2 separate regions of the Homo sapiens genome follow, and region 1 is linked to region 2. The links are contacts of gene promoters, found by promoter capture Hi-C in blood cells and fetal thymus (Javierre and others, 2016). All regions are on one chromosome and are shown on one strand. Each heading gives the region's core, a stretch centred on a gene start or on the middle of the fragment in contact. The rest is flanking DNA. Distances are from core to core; before and after follow the strand shown. Region 1 overlaps NPHP3-AS1 (NPHP3 antisense RNA 1). Region 2 holds the start of RAB6B (RAB6B, member RAS oncogene family).

Region 1 (2,700 bases), core at 115-2,614, 1.2 Mb after region 2:
ATTTTGGACTATAGCTCATTGTAAATGCTTTTAGTAAAGAATTCAAAATAATAACTGTGGATAACAAAAACTTAAAATAGTCATGTTTAAAATCTAGTGGAAGACAAAGAAATTTAGTTGTTTCTATTATATGTGGCATTTTAAAACAAAAAACAGAATCATGACTGACAGCATCACATCATGATTTCCAGACTTTTATAAATTTCATGTAATCTCTACAATATTCCTATTAATAATACATCCATACAAATATAACTTTGGAAAAGATTTAATATAGTCAAAATTATGACTCATAACATTAGATTTTTATAAATTTATATAATTCTGGGGATATTTATATCAATAACATGCCCATAAATATAACTGAAAGAAGATCTAGTACCATTTATCATTTGACAATGTTTCTCATACAATTTACCAAATAAGCCTAATAATTTAATATCTCTACAAGACATATTCTTTGAGGTTCTCCAGAGGTCTAACTAGAAAACCCTAAAGTTAATTTTAGGGGAAACAGCCTACTTTAGGAGTTGATTTGGGGGAAGTTTGTCAAAGATGTCAAAAGTTCCAAGCATTTGATGAAAACAGAATCGCCAGTCACTGTTAATTAATACTTATTCATTTAACCAGAGTGGTAATCAAAAGACTTCAAAAGCAATAAAGAAAGTTACATGGATGTAAAACCCTTAATCCTTTTAAAGAAACCAAAACCAAGTAAGGACAACACAGAAATTATCTTGATAAAAGGAAGTTTCAAAAAGAAATGGATTTTAGAATTTTAAAATAAAAATCTTTTGCAATTTTATTAAAAGAAAATGAATACTTTACAAAAACCTTGTTATAATACAGGGGACCACATTTTTTTAGTTTTGTTCTAGCATATTTTCAATGTCAAAGCTTAATCTTTAGAAAACTTAGAAATAATTTCTTTAGAATTATAGCCAACTTAATCACACACAAAATTGTTTTCATAAATTCTCTTTTCACGAACCTTATCATGACATAGGCAGACCATTGAAAACACGCTTGGACTTTCTGCTTTGTCCTGTATTTCCTCTTTCTTAAATAACCAGTCATTTTACATTAGGACAAAACTTTATCATATGAGATTCTTTCTCATACAAAATTATTCTCTTTTCTTTTTAACCTTCCTTACCAAAAATGCATCTTCATATCCATAACCTTCTTCATATTTTTCTCTCCTAGTTACTTGTTCCTTTTTAATCTTGTTTCTTTCTCCTTCCTAAGTCCATATTTTGAAACAACCTTTAAGTAACCTACAAATTAGACAAAATTATTTTTTCTTTCTCAATAAAGAACACATTTTTATAATAATTTTTATAATAAAGAACACTTCTTATAATTTTTTCTTATCAAAAACACATCTTATTTTTGGCACATTCTATATATAAAATTATATATAAATATTAATTAGAACTTTTAACTCTCAGTAACCTTACATTTTAGTGACAACCTCGACAACAAGAATCTTTGCTTGTCACATATCAGTGTCTTATAAATGAAAACCATTTTATAATCTTTAGAAACATGTTTTCTTATAATATGTTTACCTTAATTGGAAATGACCCAGACATTTAATAGTATCTATTATTTAATTTAACATAGCTTTAAGATTTCAAATTACATGAAAAGTTCCTCTAGAGGTGTATCTCATTGACAGTTATCTAATTTATTTATTTTTAACAGCTTACCTAGAATATTTATGAAAACTGAAATATTAGACAAAGCTAGTCAACATTTCAAGTTATTTTACTGCTAACCACGTTTATAGTCTGTGAATATCAGATATTCACTTAAGTAAGAAGCTTAAAGTTAAATTTATGGATATTTTGCCAAAAACTCAGAAGATGGTTGTTCTTATTAAACTAGTCTTACATGCTAAAAGATCTATTCAAGTGATATGAATTTACAAAGTATTTTGGCTTACTAATTGATGAGTGCTTATTTATTTATAAACCAATTTGGTACCATGTAAACAATATACAAATACAGACATGTGTACATGTACATATAAAAATACAAACAGATGCAAATAAAGATTTTATAGCTTTGCTTTTAAAATTTTATTCATGAGTCAGGTAAAACTCACCAGCTTAAAAGAACAGTTGAATTAAATTGTGCCTCTGTAAATACAACAAGTTAATCTGTCTTCCATGGCTGAAGATCTTACCGAGTACAGTAAATTTACATCTCAAGGCACAGAGACATAATTTAAGTTTTCTAAAAGGCCAGTGAAGTTTTATATCTGCAAGGGACTGTGAGGTCTAGCAGCACATTTAAAGAGTATTATCTGATATTTGGTAAAAGGTTTAATCAGGTTTACTTCCACTTTAATGGAGGTGGCTGTATGTATTTTACTAATGTATATGGAAGACCACAAATGGTTTGGCAAAGCTAGCAATAAACCATAAAATGTGTTGATCATTAGTACCACTTTAGAAAAAACTTGTTGGATCTGTATTTTTAGAATCTCAGTAGTTTCATTCTCATTCTGCAGTTGTTCCATTTGCTCCTTCTGTTTTAAATTTAAATACATTTTAACTCCCTTGAAAGAAGTAAATGAGTCCATTGTGAAATTCCAAAAATCTCTGCCTAAGAGATGTATGGGAGCCCAAGGAACAAGCAGAAGGGAATGAGTTCATATAAGAGAGAAGATGAAAGAACAGGGGTAGACAAGGA
Region 2 (2,811 bases), core at 312-2,811:
CACTGGCCCTTCTTTGGAGGGATCACTTATAGAGACGGGAAGGGCTGTGACTTGGGAGTCTCCTCTCCTTTCAGAGCTTTCTTCAACCCCAAGCTGGATATGGTCTCCTAAGAGAGCAGGAGCCCCAGAGAAGTGGGTGGGTGTCTGGAGGGTTACCCTGAGCCTGGTGCCAGCCACAACGGGGCAGATATTCTAGGTGATGACTTACAATCCCTGGGGTTCCAAACTAAAGGTAATTATGAGAATAGGACAGTTATTTTGATTTGAGTTCTAGATGTTCATTCAAACATTCAACAACTATTTCTTAAACTCTGAGCTATGTCCTTGGGATGCAGTGGTGGAGCTTCAACTACTGCTTTTATGGAACTTGTGGTCAGGTTTCTAACAAGAAATAGGAAAGAGATTCGAGGTGAGCACACCAGGGAGACAGATAGGCTTGCCCAAGCAAGCCCCATAAGTCAAAAAGGGGGTAACAAGTGTCCACGAGAAATCTGGAGGTGAAGGTTGTGTCTCACTCCTCTTTCTCTTTCTATAACACATGCGTGCACACACCATCGTGTTCACCGACATGCAGATTATTATCTCAAATAAATGCTCACTGAACAGCCATAAATGAACAAGACCACGCTGTGGCAGAACAGTAAGGGACAGCTTTGTAAAACCTCAATTAACCAGCATGCCTTAGGCTCGGGCTGTCTTGGGAGTGTTTCTAGCACTTGGCGTCTGCTCTTTGCTCTCACTCACTCACAACTTGGTCTGTGTGCCTCGATGGACCAGGCAAGTAGAGGCCAAGGAGAGGTCGCCCACATGTCCTCAGATAGCTCATTGTCCAGATACACCTAATTGCCAGGGTGGGGAGTGGCATTGTCAGCCTGGCGACCCCGGGATCAAGAAACGCAGGGCACTGTCCTGGAGATAGTGGCACTGGCATTCAGAGCGTCACCGTTCCTTCTCTCCCATGGGGCAGGTTAGGATTTGGCATAAAATGATCCAAATGAGCAGCTGGTTTGAGGTAGGCGCGCCTGATATTGGCAGCTCCTCTCTCGCTGGCCAGGTCTGCGGGGGCACCCACAGACTCCACAAGAGGCCGCCCAAATAAAGGGTCTAGGCCTCGAGAGGGAAGGGCGGGCTAGAAGCCACGGGGGGCAAGAGTCGAGCCCCATCTGCGCCAAGTACGCCAGGTTTCCCTAGGTCTGACCGCCCTGACGGGCCTCGCCACACCCTGGCTCTCCCCCACCTTCGTTCCTTTCCGCCCTGTCGGTCGGACGACTGCGCTGTGCATCGGTGTCTCGCGAGGTGGAGGAAGGGACTGGCATCTAGGTTTAAAAGACCAGAAACAAATGTCCCCTGACAATTTCTGTCATTTTCTGGATTCAAAAGAGGGGTAGAGTGGGGAAGACAGACGCAGCGGGGCAGCGAGACACGGTCCCCCCCGGGGGGCTCTCAGGGGTACGGCGAGGAGGTTCTCTCCTGCCCGGGTGCGGGCTCGGGTGGGCGGGCGCACGCCCCCCAGCCCCGCAGCCCCGCGGGCCCCGCATGACATCAGAGGCTGGGGAGCGCACAGAGCGCAGGCGCCGGCGGAGGAGGCAGGCGGGAGGGGGCCGACTGGCGCGGCTCTGGAGAGCGCTCCTCCGCCCCGCGCGCCGTCCCTGCGCCCCGCTCCGCCCGCGCCTCTCTCCCAGCGCCGCGCCTCGGGCGTAAAGAGCGCGCCCCTCGCACCGCAGCCAGTGCCGACCGCAGCAGCCCAGCCCCAGCCTTCCTCCGCCTCCGCCTCTCTCTCCTCCTCCTCCTCCGCCGCCGGACACGCAGCCGCAGGCCGGGACCGGGACGCAGCTGGGGAGTCAGGGACGCGCGCAGCCAGCCCTTCCCCCTCCGGCTCCCGCACCGCCGGCCGCCTCCCCTCGCCCTCCTACTCTCCCCTCCCTGCTCCTTCGCTTTTTCCTCCTCCTCCTCTCCCGGCCCCGGCTGCCAGCACCATGTCCGCAGGGGGAGATTTTGGGAATCCACTGAGAAAATTCAAGTTGGTGTTCTTGGGGGAGCAGAGCGGTAAGTACCCGGCTTAATCTCTTGGCTTGTCGCCGAGTCGACCCCCGCCGCCCAATCGCCCACCCCATTGGGACCCCCGGCCCAGGCTCGGAAAGGCCCCTCCTTGCCAGGGTAGAGGAGAGGGACAGGGATGGGGAGGTCGGGGCGGGGTCGGGCTGGGGAGGGGCCAAGGGTGAGGACGGAGGAGGCGCTGGAGCCTGGGGTGGAGGTGAGGGTGGGCTCTGGGTGGGGGGCCCGGGGTGTGGGTGCAGGTGCGGCGCTGCAGGGGGCCCGGAGGGCGGCGGCTGGCTCCGCGGCGCTGGCCAGGGCGTGAAGGAACCGGGCTCGCTGGCTAGCTCACACTGCGGCACCGGCTGCGGGCGACCGCGCAGGTGGCTGGGTGCTGGCGGGGGTGGGGAGAGCGACGGGCGCCCCCCTTGGAGAACGAAGCGAAGCTGGGGTCTGGCCGGGCCTCACTCCGCTGCACTGGAGGGGTGTTCCCTGCGGACCCTGCTGGGAACCATGCGAAAGGGCACGTCCAGGGCGTGGGACAAACAGCCACCGGGGAGAAAAGAGCGACACCTGTCTCTGCTCGAAAGAGCGAGTGCAGGCCATGGGGGAACGGGGAGCCTACCTCCCCTGGCTCACGTCCGACTGGGCACAGAAGGTTCTAGACCCGCTGCCCTTCGCCGGCGCTTGTTAGTCTCCTTGCTGCCCAGGGATCTGGGCAATTGCAGTGAGGGCTACCCCAACTCGAGGCGATTTGGGGAATGATACAGGGGCACC

Evidence for each region. Contacts are between HindIII fragments. The CHiCAGO score rates a contact against its expected background, and 5 or more counts as called.
Region 1: a fragment that was not itself captured here is called in contact with the fragment with the promoter of RAB6B in region 2 in 4 of 17 cell types (naive B cells, M0 macrophages, non-activated CD4 T cells and 1 more); the score reaches 11.3 in naive B cells.

The regions. Positions count from the first base shown.
Region 1 is chr3:132,731,901-132,734,600 of GRCh38, reverse strand. NPHP3-AS1 (NPHP3 antisense RNA 1) reads right to left here. Exons shown (of 11, transcript NR_002811.2): 3 at 1,157-1,277. Among named protein-coding and RNA genes, the nearest start is that of NPHP3-ACAD11, 11 kb to the right of the region's middle. The HindIII fragment of the contact is 929 bases long and covers 900-1,828 here.
Region 2 is chr3:133,894,632-133,897,442 of GRCh38, reverse strand. RAB6B (RAB6B, member RAS oncogene family) reads left to right here and starts at 1,561. Exons shown (of 8, transcript NM_016577.4): 1 at 1,561-2,046. The coding sequence starts at 1,977. RefSeq lists a silencer at 1,542-1,591. The HindIII fragment of the contact is 7,968 bases long and covers 1-2,811 here.